Linked DNA regions of Homo sapiens: region 2 is linked to region 1. The links are contacts of gene promoters, found by promoter capture Hi-C in human tissues and cell types (Jung and others, 2019). All regions are on one chromosome and are shown on one strand. The core of a region is centred on a gene start or on the middle of the fragment in contact, and the rest is flanking DNA. Distances in the headings are between cores, read along the strand shown. Region 1 holds the start of TAF1 (TATA-box binding protein associated factor 1). Region 2 has its middle 27 kb from the start of SNX12.

What was found. Contacts are between HindIII fragments. The study calls those that stand out against the background at their distance.
Region 2: a fragment that was not itself captured here is called in contact with the fragment with the promoter of TAF1 in region 1 in 1 of the 25 tissues and cell types used here (hippocampus).

Annotation. Positions count from the first base shown.
Region 1 is chrX:71,362,959-71,369,688 of GRCh38, reverse strand. TAF1 (TATA-box binding protein associated factor 1) reads right to left here and starts at 3,332. Exons shown (of 38, transcript NM_004606.5): 1 at 3,195-3,332; 2 at 2,076-2,190; 3 at 1,519-1,635. The coding sequence starts at 3,314. RefSeq lists enhancers at 2,027-2,722, 3,241-3,290, 3,781-3,830, 3,999-4,568 and a silencer at 3,451-3,640. The HindIII fragment of the contact is 16,773 bases long and covers 1-6,730 here.
Region 2 is chrX:71,038,057-71,044,533 of GRCh38, reverse strand. It overlaps the pseudogene SOCS5P4. Among named protein-coding and RNA genes, the nearest start is that of SNX12, 27 kb to the left of the region's middle. The HindIII fragment of the contact is 4,398 bases long and covers 2,864-6,477 here.

The DNA of each region.
Region 1 (6,730 bases), core at 2,083-4,582:
GCTTGCAGTGAGCCAAGATTGCACCACTGCACTCCAGCCTGGGCAATAGAGCGAGACTCCGTCTCAAAAAAAAAAAAAAAAAAGAAACACACTGCCTATCAGTTTAGAGTACATAACAAGTGCTCAAACAATGTCTAACGAACTGAGCTAAATTAGTCAGTCTACTACTAGCTAATTGTATTACTTTTGATAAAATCCCACATTTTATTATAAAGTTCTCTAAAGTTCAAGTTTTCCTTTTCTACTAGAGATTACGAATAAATAATTCCTAAGACTCCTTCCACTCACTGACTCTACCTTCTAAGTCTGATGTTTTGATTCTACAATGTAGCACCCTATACCAGAGAGGAAAAAAACATATTTGCAAGCAGGTATCAAGTTCATTGTTTTAGGCAGGGTGCGGTGGCTCACACCTGTAATCCTAACACTTATGGAGACCGAGGGGAGCAGGGTCACTTGAGGTAAGGAGTTCGAAACCAATCTGGCCAACATGGTGAAACCCCTTCTCTACTAAAAATACAAAAAAATTGGCCAGATGTGGCCGGGCGTGGTGGCTCACGCCTGTAATCCCAGCACTTTGGGAAGCCGAGGCAGGCGGATCACGAGGTCAGGAGATCGAGACCATCCTGGCTAACACGGTGAAACCCTGTCTCTACTAAAAATACAAAAAAATAGCCGGGCTTGGTGGCGGGCCCCTGTAGTCCCAGCTACTTGGGAGGCTCAGGCAGGAGAATTGCTTCAAACCGGGAGGTGGAGATTGCAGTGAGCCGAGATCGTGTCACCGCACTCCAACCTGGGCAAGAAAGTGAGACACTCCGTCTCGGAAAAAAAAAAAAAAACAGTTGTTTTATATTGGGTTTTTTTTTTTTTTTTTGAGACGGAGTGTCTCACTCTTGCTGCCCAGGCTGGAGTGCAGTGGCACGATCTCGGCTCACTGCAACCTCCACCTGCCGGTTTGAAGCAATTCTCCTGCCTCAGCCTCCCGAGTACCTGGGATTACAGTCATGCGCCACCACGCCTGGCTAATTTTTTATTTTTAGTAAACGGGATTTCTCCATATTGGTCAGGCTGTCTCAAGCTCCCGACCTCAGGTAATCTGGTGAGCCACCACGTCCTGCCTTAGTTCATTGCTTATGTATGACGTTGTATCCTTCTTGAACTATCCATTCCTTAAGGGCAAAAACTGAATTTGTTTCATAGTTTCCAACTTTGAAGTGTATCTCACAAACCCTGTAGGTATTCAAATACCAGGTGACAAGAAAGCTACTTGTCATTAACTAAGAATTCATGACTGAACAGTGTGAGGAATAACCACATGAATACGGTTAAGACTGGCCAGAACACAAAAAAAGATAGCAGCTACTTGGAACTGACCTGACAAAGGGAGTGGAGGAGCCAAAGCAAAGGCATAGAGAGCAGAAACAATGGCAGACAGCGGGTATAGAAACCAGAGCCCAAACTGGACTATACAGCAGGATAATGCACTGGAATGTTCAAGCCAATACACCAAAGAATCACCTGAGTGGCAAAGGGGCTGCAAGCTCCCCATCGTCTGCTGGTATCTTCGGCTTTCATCTTCTGCCACCTCATTGATGTCTGAATAGTCCACAGCATCTTCTGTACTCCTAACCCACCCTATGAAAAAAGCAGGGAGAATCGCAACAACAGTAAGCGACCCTCACTCCCTCAGATAATTCCCATTTAAAAGTACATGTACAGGCTGGATGCGGTGGCTCACGCCTGTAATCCCAGCACTTTGGAAGGCCAAGCCAGACGGATCACCTCAGGCCAGGAGTTCAAGACCAGTCTGACCAATATGATGAAACCCTGTCTCTACTAAAAATACAAAAATTAGCCGGGCGTGGTGGTGCGTGCCTGTAGTCCCAGCTACTCAGGAGGCTGAGACAGGAGAAATGCTTGAACCCGGGTGGCGGAGGCTGCAGTCAGCCCAGATCGCCCCACTGCACTCCAACCTCGGAGACAGAGCGAAACTCCGTCTTACACACACAAAAAAGTACATACATAGTAGGTGGCTAGCCTCCTCCCCCGCCTACTCCCCACAACCCAGACTTCACCTTCATCATTTACCAAGGCACCGTCAGTCCCGGTCAATTCTTCATTTGCCGTGAGTTCAGTGATCAGGCTGCCCAGCCCCAAAGCCCCCAAGCCTGCCAAGTGCTTCTTACATTCCTGAAAAAGGGACAGCACGAGTCGAAGATAACAACTAAACCTACGACTCCCACACCACAGGACTTATTTCCCTGGTCCACGACAAAGTCACAAATCCACATGAAAAATGACTGTGCAGTGTGCCAAAACAAGCAACACGTTCGAGAACTGTAATATACATCTACCAAACTCCGCATCGATCAGATCTTTATTAAAGCACCACAGCCAACTGCATCGCCCACACTTTAAAGTATACTACAAGAGAAGACGAATCAAATAACTACTGCCAAGACTGAATGAATGGAACGGTCGTTCTCGGAACGAGGGCCGAGGCAGGGGGATCAGTGGGATTGGAGGCGTCGAGGCGGGGCTCGTTCGGTCCCTGTTTCGCATGCGCCTGCGGCACAGGAGGGGCCACAGCGGCCGACAGCTTCACTCCTCAAGAAAACGGGCCTAAGTGAAGGCAGGGTAGTTTCACTAGGGCGCAGGACACTATTTCACGAAAGTCAGTGAAGACGCTGGGAGAGCCACCTAAAAGGCGCACTGTGACCAGGAGGCCCGCTCGGGTGCTAGGAACACCCCATTGTCCTAAGCCTGAGGCCGGAACCAAACGAGCGGGAGGCAGGTCCTGTCCAGTCCTCTGGCTCTATAGAGCCATCTCAGGGCAGCGATGTCAGAGGGGCAGGCAGTGTCAAGAATCTCCAAGCAGGTTACGGGTGGGAAGCCATCTCAGTAGGCGAAACCAGCATGTGTCCTACTGTCTGGTCGGCAGAGCGCTAGCTCCAAAGCCACTATTCCCTGCGCCCCTGGCCCCGGGCTCGCCTCGCGCTCTCTTCTGCCCACTCTCCCCCAGAACGATCACTCCCACGCCACGTTGCTCCCGCACCCATGAGGACGGGATCCTCCTCCCCGGCGTTAGCTGCGCCCTGTTCTCGCTGCCTGAGCACCCTCTCCTTTCCTCCCCGCACCTCCTTCCTCTGCTTAGCCCCACCCCCCGAGCCCTACCCCCACGCCCACCCCCTCACATCATCCAAGACGCTTTCCCCCTCCAGCTGCCCGGCTCCATTGATGTTGCCGAAAAGGAAACCCGCTAAAGAAAATGGGCCGCCTCCAGCGGAATCTTCGTCGCTGTCCGTGTCTGACATGATGGCGGCAGCAGTGATGGTAGCTGCTGTCCGCAGCAGCAAATCGCAGCCGGGTCCCATAGACCGGAAATAAAACAACAGTCGCCCAGAAGTGACTTACTGAGCTCCCTTACCCTACCAGCCTCTACCGGAAGCTCAAAACAGAGGGGAAAGGGAGGGGGAAGTGGGGAGAGGGGAGGGGGAAGGGGGGGAAAACCCGGAAAGACCGGCTATCCTAAGAGAAAGAAGTAACTACTTTACTAACGGCTTTTGATTCGACGCTACGGGATCAGGAGGATGGATATGTGGAAAGCGGTTGGTCAAAGAAAATATTCAGTCCCGCCCGCTCCCACTGCTCCGCGCGCGAGCTTTCTCACGGCACCGAATTAGAGCAGTGGCTCTTCCTCCAATCAGAAGGAGCTGCTCGAGTCACGTGGCTTACGCGCAGGCAACCTCGGGTTCCTGTACCACAATACCCGGAAGTAAGGGTAAGAGCCGGTCTTTGTGCTGCGTGCAATTTCACCGGTCCGTCCCAAGGAGAGACTTGACGTAAATTATACAGGCATTCCCGAGCTATGCAGGTTACTTGTTTTGAGTTGACATTTTTCCCTAGAAATTGATTTTTTGACCGGACGCGGTGGCTTACGCCTGTAATTCCAGCACTTTGAGAGGCCGAGGTGGGAGGATCGCTTGAGCCCACGAGTATGAGGCCAGCCTGGACAAGAAAGCGAGACTCCATCCATACACAAAATCAAAAAAATTAGCCAGATGTGGTGGCCAGTGCCTGTAGTCCCAGCTGTTGGGGGGTCTGAGGTGGGAGCCAGGAGTTGGAGTCTGCAGTGACCTGTGATCGGGCCACTGCACTCCAGCCCGCCTCAAAAAAAATACTTGTTCCCCCAACGTTTTATTTCGGAAAATGTGAAAGTTTAGTAAAATGAACAGCTGACCCCTCACCTAGACTCACAATGGTTAACATTTTGCTAGGATTTTTGTTTTTCTAAACCATTTATGGGCATCTTGTTCTTCACTCCTAAAAATAAGCATCTTAACTATGGAACCAAAGTACCTTTATCACAACTTTAGGAAGTAAGTCAATATTATTTAAGGAAGAGTCCGCACTTAAATTTCCCCAGTTGTCCTAGTTGGAACATTTTACGGGGTTTCGTCATGTTGCACAGGCTGGTCTCAGACTCCTGGGCTCAAGCAATCTGCCCGTTTCAGCCTCCCAAAGTGCTGGGATTGCAGCCATGAGCCAACACCCCGGCTTTCACCTTGCTTTTTTCACATATTATGATAATATAGACTGAAATAATTTCTTTACCACATCATAGCACTCTTCCTCATTCTCCCTTTTTTCCAATACTAGGATCCATTCACGTTTCATGCATTGTATTTGGTCATCTTCCTTTAGTCCAGAATCACCTGCCTTCTTGTTTGTTTTTCATGACACTAAATATTTGGAAGAATCCAGGCAAGTTGTCTTGAAAACATTCCATGATCCGAATTTCTCTTGTTTCCTTTTTTTTTTTGAGACGTAGTCTCGCTCTGTTGCCCAGGGTGGAGTGCAGTGGTGCTATCTCGGCTCATTGCAAGCTCCACCTCCTGGGTTCACACCATTCTCCTGCTTCAGCCTCCCAAGTATCTGGGACTACAGGCGCCCGCCACCAAGCCCGGCTAATTTTTGTATTTTTGGTGGAGACGGGGTTTCACTGTGTTAGCCAGGATGGTCTTGATTTCCTGACCTCGTGATCCGCCCACCTCGGCCTCCCAAAATGCTGGGATTACAGGCGTGAGCCACCACACGCCCGGCCTTTTTTTTTTTTTCTTTTTTTGAGACGGAGTCTCTTGCTCTGTCTCCCAGGATAAAGTGCTGTGGTGCGATCTCGGCGCCACCACCCCTGGCTAATTTTTGTATGATTAGTAGAGCCGGGGTTTCACCATATTGGCCACACTGATCTCAAACTCCTGACCTCGTGATCCGCCCGCCTCAAGTGCTGGAAATTACAGGAGTGAGCCTCCGCGCCCGGCCCAGGTTAAATATTTTATCAGCCATCAGAAGGTACACTGTCAAATACAGTGTTGTCCTAGTATTGGTGATGCTAAATTTCATCACCTTGATAAAGTAGTCACCACCAGATTGCTCCATCACAAAGGTACAACCCTGTGTAATTACTAAGTAATCCACAGGTACTTAGAGATTGTGTGAATATTCTTTTTTTTTTTTCAGTCTTTTGGTACTGAGCCCATCCTTCTGCAGAATAAATTGTGAATATTCTTTTCCCCATTGACCTTGCACCCAATGTGGTTTTAGCATTCATTGATGTCCCTTGCCTAAATCAGTTATATTGGGAGAATGCGAAAGGATGATCTTTCTTTCTTTTTCTTATTTTTTTTTTGAGAAAGTCTCACTCTGTTGCCCAGGGTGGAGTGCACTGCCGACCTCCTTCTCCCGGGTTCAAGCGATTCTCCAGTCTCAGCCTCTTGAGTAGCTGGGACTATAGGAGCATACCACCACACCCGAATTTTTGTATTTTTAGTAGACACGGGGTTTCACCGTGTTAACCAGGCTGGTCTCAAACTCCTGACCTCAGGTGATCCACCCGCCTTGGCCTCCCAAAGTGCTGGGATTACAGGCGTGAGCCACCGCGCCCAGCTTGGAATGCTTTTTAATGTAGTTTATGATAGTTACGTAGCAGCGCGCACAGTGGCTCACGGCTGTAATCCCAGCACTTTGGGAGGCCGAGGCGGACAGATCACCTGAGGTCAGGAGTTTGAGACCAAGCTGGCCAACATGGTGAAACCGTATCTTTACTAAAAATACAAAAAAATTAGCCAACACGGTGGCGCACATCTGTAGCCCCAGCTACTTGGGAGGCTGAGGCTGGAGAATCGCTTGAACCCGGGAGGTGGAGGTTGCAGTGAGCCGAGATCGCGCTACTGTACTCCAGCCTGGGCAACAGAGCGAGACTCTGTCTCAAAAAAAAAAAAAAAAAAGTTATTTAGTACGATATTGTCTCTTGGATGCTTGTGCTTGAGGAAAAGCAGACTGAATAAAGGTAGAGGCTTGTAGGATGTGGAAGGAGACTTCAGGTCCTATAAATATAAAAGATAACTTTTTTTTTTTTGTAGAGACAGGGTCTCACTATTGTAGCCCAGGGTGGTCTTGAACTCCTGAGCCCAAGCAATCCTCCCGCCTTGGCCTCCCAAAGTGTTGGGATTACAGGTATGAGCCACCACACCTAACCTAAAGATACAATTCTTTTTTTTTTATCTCCCAGCCTGCTCCCAGCCGAAAGATACCATTCTTGATTCAAAACATGGTTTCATATATTCACATTGTTCGGTCCAAACAGTAAAATAAAAAGTTTTTAAAAAATAAAAATAGGCTGGGCACGGTGGCTCACTCCTGTAATCCCAGCACTTTGGGAGGTCCAGGC
Region 2 (6,477 bases), core at 3,813-6,312, 330 kb after region 1:
ATTTTTGTGTATTTTAATAGAGACAGATTTTCGCCATGTTGGCCAGGTTGGTCTGGAACTCCTGACCTCGGGTGATCGGCACACCTCGGCCTCCCAAAGTGCTGGGATTACAGGCGTGAGCCACCTCACCCAGCCCCATATTTGGTTTCTACAGAAGATGAAGATAGTTTAGAGAGAGAAGACTGCTTAGTATTGAAGAAGGGGTTGATCCCCCTCCCGATGCACAAATGCATATGTTTGAAGCGACTGCACAGGTTAATCCATTAAATAAACTGGGACCAAAGTTAGCTCCTGGAACGACTGAAATAAGTGGGGACAGTTCTGCAGTTCCACATGCTAATTGTGACCTGAAAGAGTATACAGCCACCCTGTGTTTGCAGCCATGGAGGGCAGAAGCAGCATGAGGTACATGCCCATGTTAGCAGACAGGGAGCTTGGGAAGTCCACACACAGGCTGATTACAGATACTGCTTCAGACTACAGGGAATCCTTGTTATTGGAGAGTGATGGACCGTTATGAATCAGAAGCCCTTCTAGAAGGGAAATGTGAAGACACATTTTTGCTCAGGGATGCTGGGCAAAGGGACTGCCTCTTCTCTATGAACTTCTGGGGCTACAACAGATCCTTGCAGGCCTGAATTGAGCAGTAATCACAACTTTGGTTTTGATGCCCATGACCCCTGTTTATGTCACTCCTCCACTGTAACAGGACTTTAAGAACATTATAGCAGCCATAAAAAAAGGATGAGTTAATGTCCTTTGCAGGGACATGGATGAAGCTGGAAACCATCATTCTCAGCAAACTTAACACAGGAACAGAAAACCAACCACCGCATGTTCTCACTCATAAGTGGGAGTTGAACAATGAGAACACATGGACACGGCGTGGGGGCTGTAAGGGGAACATCACACACTGGGGCCTGTCGGGGGGTGGGGAGCTAGGGAGGGATAGCATTAGGAGAAATACCTAATGTAGATGATGGGTTGATGAGTGCAGCAAACCACCATGGCACATGTATACCTATGTAACAAACCTGCGTGTTCTGCACATGTATCCCAGCACTTAAAGTTTAATAGAAAAGAACATTATAAAGATCCCAGTTATTGCATGTTTTTTGAACTGTTGCTTACTATATTACTAGATAGGACTTTCCCTTTTAGCTGTAGTATATCTGTTGTACAGTAATCTGCAGGTGTACTACATATGATGGAATTAATGGGCTCCCTTTACCATCAATGTTACAAGATTTTTGAAAAGAGTATCTTTATAAACAAAAATTTAGGGTTCACTAGTGAGAACGAGAACCAGTCAAGGCAAAGTAAACTCTCCTGTCCCCAAAGGGTGTGAATCTCATCTGCTTTCATGTGCATCAGATGTATACCTATAGCAAGCACACATAACGGTGCTAGGTTTTTTCATACAGTATGTAAGCTTAGTGTTAGTATCTGTCAGATGCAACCTTCTGTTACTTATCCAGATAAACGTGGTGCCTAGTGGAACAACAGAGGATAGAACTACAGGTGTTCAGGCCGGGCACAGTGGCTCACACCTGTAATCCCAGCACTTTGGGAGGCTGAGGCAGGCAGGTCACTTGAGCTTAGGAGTTCGAGACCAGCCTGGGCAACGTGGTGAAACCCCATCTCTACTGAAAATACAAAAAATTATCTGGGTGTGGTGGCGGGCGCCTGTAATCCCAGCTACTGGGGAGGCTGAGTGGGAGAATTGCTGGAACCTGGGAGGCGGAGGTTGCAGTGAGCCAAGATTGCTCCACTGCACTCCAGTCTGGGAGACAGAGCGAGACTCTGTCAAAACAAAAACAAAAACAAACTACAGGTGTTGAGTAAGACTACAAAACAAGTTTGCCTATTTAGCGAACAGTTTGGTTTTTAATGGCTGTAGTAATTGAGTGAGGCAACTCTGGGGCATTTGCTGTGAAGAATTCTATTTCTTACTGAAGAACAAATTATTAATATCAGATGAGTATTTCAACAGTGTGACTAATGTTTGAAATTATTTTTTCTAAGAGTTTTTCTATAACCTTCCAAAAGTAGTGATGTTTATAATTACTATAAATCAAGCTTTAGAAGTCCAATACAAATAAAATAATGCTTTTCTTTTAGAAAAAAAAATGTAATTTTCTGGCCACAAGGGCATAGTGCATTTCACCTAAATGTTGATGTAGTTTATAGTCAGACTCTTTCTCTTCTGCAAAAGATACTGTTAAGTAAACCAGGTTTTCTAAATAGTCATTCTTAAGAGTTTGGACTTATAAAATTAGTAGCAGAATTTTATTTAAAGGCCCTAGGTATTATATTTTTTTGTTTTTTTGTTTGTTTGTTTGTTTTTTAGATGGAGTCTTGCTCTGTTGCCCAGACTGGAGTGCGGTGGCACGATCTCAGCTCACTGCAACCTCTGCCTCCCAGGTTCAAGCGATTCTCCTGCCTCAGCCTCCCGAGTACCTGGGACTACAGGCGCTCGCCACCATGCCTGGCTAATTTTTTGTATTTTTAGTAGAGACGTGGTTTCACCGTGTTAGCCAGGATAGTCTTGACCTCCTGACCTCGTGATCCGCCTGCCTCAGCCTCCTAAAGTGCTGGGATTACAGGCGTGAGCCACTGCACCCAGCCAGGTATTAGTTTTTAAGTGAGCACTTTAACTTAAAACAGCTGCTGCAATATAGTCTTGCATATGATTTTTTAAAAAGTTGATGTGACCGGGTGCGGTGGCTCATGCCTGTAATCCCAGAACTTTGGGAGGCCAAAGCGGGCAGATCACCTGAGGTCAGGAGTTTGAGACCAGCCTGGCCAACATGGTGAAACCTCGTCTTTACTAAAAATACAAAAAATTAGCCGTGCGTGGTGGTGGGCGCCTGTAATCCCAGCTACTCGGGTGGCTGAGACAGGAGAATCACTTGAACCTGGGAGGCGGAGGTTGCAGTGAGCCGAGATTGCACCATTGCACTCCAGCCAGGGCAACAAGAGCGAAACTTGGTGTCAAAAAAAAAAAAAAGTTGATGTGCAGTCTAATTGTTGTTTCATAAAAGTTGGATCTTCTCCTGTGCCCATAATGATTTTGTGAATCATGAAGAAAATGCGACTAGAAGATGCCCAAACAAATCAGATAATAGTAACTACAATGGTTGCTGATGTTAGATTATTGTTAAACTGTAATTACTAATTTGGATGGCAGTATTTATCTCTTTTTTGTAAACACTCATAGCTAAATTGCTTAAGTATAATTTACAGAATTTCAGTGTAATTTACTCTCAATGGAAAATCTGAAACATAAATTGCAGATTTGAAAGGTACTGTACAACCATTATATCTGTAAATAACTACTTAACACCTCTTTGTCACTTAGAATACTACTTGAGTGTAATACTACTTGAATACTACTGTGAATGTAATACTACTTGAGTGAGCTCTTTTGGAAGTTACATCAAGTTCTAGTGTTTGCTTCTTAGTAACTGAACTGAATGTACAGTTCTGTCCTAGACATTTTGCACTAAAGTGGCTGAATCCATTCTTGTGTCTTTTTGTTAATGTGTTCTGTACCACTGGTGAGTGCTCCATAGTTTCCTTACCTGCTGCTACAGAACATTATTTTACATCCCTATGGCAATTGCCAAGGCTACAAAAAAAAAAAGCTTTATTTGTATGCCACACTAACTCTTTGACTGCTAATGCGTGTTTCTGCTTGCTGTGCCTTGTTATGGCTGCTTTTTTGTGCTAATAAAGTATGTTTGGTGTTCTCCTTGTATATCTACTGTTTTATACATTTGCAACAATTTCTTTTGTAAATGGAATGGTTTGGGGTTTTTTAAAATAAGCATTATCTAACAACCTACTATAGCTAATGTAGAATTACTGTACAGTCTCATATTGACTTATCAGAATAAGCTAACTCTAAGTTTAATGCTCTGCATCTTATCAATCATAATCACATATACTGTGGAGCAGTATCTGTAGTTACTGAAAATCATTGTACAGTTTAGATTATAACAAAAAACTGGCAGAAATAATAAATCTATTGATTTCTCTGCTTATGGGTGAAAGATCAAAACTATCAATGACATATTACAGTAAATGAGTATCTGTAACCTTCCACACATCAGAAGCAGATTAAATCAAGTCTTGTGAACTATTAATATATCAGTACCACTTATTGGTTTGGGGACCATCTTAATTGAAAATAAATGCCACAAATATAGAACTTTAACCAAAGACTTGTCCATTTTAAAGCAAGATGGGGATTGAAGTCACTTATAATTTCTGTTGCTTATAATTGAAGTCCCTGAAGAACATATATCAAAGTGTTTGAGAACTTCATTCAAACCTTTTTTTTTTTTTTTGAGACGGAGTCTCGATCTATCACCCTGGCTGGTAGTGCAGTGGTGTGATCTCGGCTCACTGCAACCTCTGCCTCCTGGTTTTAAGCGATTCTCCTGCCTCGGCCTTTGGAGTAGCTGAGATTACAGGTGGGCGCCACCATGCCTGGCTAATTTTTGTATTTTTAGTAGAGACGGGGTTTTACCATGTCGGCCAGGTTGGTCTCGAACTCCTGACCTTAGGTGATCTGCTCGCCTCTGCCTCCCAAAGTGCTGGGATTACAGGCGTGAGCCACCGCACTTGGCCCAAGCCTGCTTTTAAAGTTTTATATGCAATTAGATTGTTATGACCAAGATTGTGTTTTAGGGACGAAACTGGAAACTCCAAGAAAGCACTTGATATTTTTATATGCTTGTAGCAAATTGATGTTCTAACTGTAGATTTATAGAAAGTATTAATGCTTTTATGTATTTCAGAACTTTCATATGTTAAATGGAAATTATTTTAAATGTGTAACTATTTGAGTTTATGTAAGCATGTATACACTGTGCTAAAAGTCACTTGTGTTTCAATTTGTGTATAATATTAATATGCAACTTTTGGTTTAAATATTTTTCTTAAATTATTAGTGGCTTACCTTTTAAAAAAGAAAAATTACCAGCGTGAAATTGCAAAGAAAAAAAAAAGTCTTTGGACTTTCCCCGCTAGAAAAATGCACAAATGTACACAGAATTTTGCATAAATTTTAAACCTGGACATGCTCCCTGATGCCTATCCATAAGCTTCACATTAAATACTCCTAATCAGAAGTAATAAATCCTATAATAGGATTGCACTTGTTCATAATTCGACCATAGGCCATCAGGGAAGGCTTCATAGAAAAGATAGTTTTTGGTCTGAGATTTAAAGAATGAGTAGGAGTTTCCTGGATTTTCAAGGGCCGGGAAGGGCATTTTAGACTGAAGAGTCCAGTTAACTGAAAACCAATTAATACTGCAAGCCTTTTTGATCATCTGCCTTTTTGTTCACTCTGTCTTGAACCCCTTTGGGCTTCCTTCTGTTCTTCTACACTTTTCCTTACCCTCCATCATCCACCCACTATTGCCTCTCTTGCCAATTATTTGTACTATGTTTTCTGGAAAACTGGTACCATTGTAGACAGACTCTACTGTACCCTAAATTTCCTCACTGAATTCTCTCTCCACTTGCTTGCTTTAACTGAAACCCGGCTTCTCTCCCAGGGTGTGCCCTCTGTATTGCTATGGTTCTTGAGTGAAAGCCTCACATAACTGATTGAACAAATATCCCTACTGATGAATATTTAGGTTGTTTCCAGTTTTACAAACAATGCCACAGTGAAATGCTAATACATGTATGTTTGGGTACATGTGAATATATTTGTAGGATAGATTTGTGGATTTGAAACTGCTGAATCAAATGACACAAACATTAAAAAAATTGATAAATACTGCCAAATTTTTATCCAGAAAGTTTTTTCTAATGTACCTTCTTACCAAGCATACATGAATGCCTGTTTTCTTATACCTCACTGATACTGGAGAGTTATTAATCATTGTAATTTTTGTTTCCCAGAAGTCATCATCATTCCTACTCTTCATCACTGCTTCTAGACCTTTGCTTTCAACCCTCACATTAAAGGCCTCTCTTTTAAGGCTCATGCCTTTTGCAATATTACCTTTTATTCCTTCTCGATGTAGTCATTTATTGCCTTCTTGAATATTTCCTGATATTCTATGGAGACTTGAGCATCTGCTCTCTACCTCCCAGCCCATCACAATGCTCCTGTGGATGAACTGGCCAAGCAACACTCTACCTTCACAGCTCCTTGACCATTTCTAGTGCTCTTCTCCACTCTACTTCTGCAAGAAAATTTATTAGCCTCATTCTGGATTTTGTCATTTCCCAGAATTACTCTATATCTGAAAATATACAATTCCAATATCTCATTCTCTGTCCACAACTTTTTTTTTTTTTTTGACAGAGTCTCGCTCTGTCATCCAGGCTGGAGGGTAGTGGCACAATCTTGGCTCACTGCAACCTCCGCCTCCTGGGTTTAAGCGATTCTTCTGCCTTAGCCTCCCGTGTAGCTGGGACTACAGGTGTGTGCCACCATGCCCGGCTAATTTT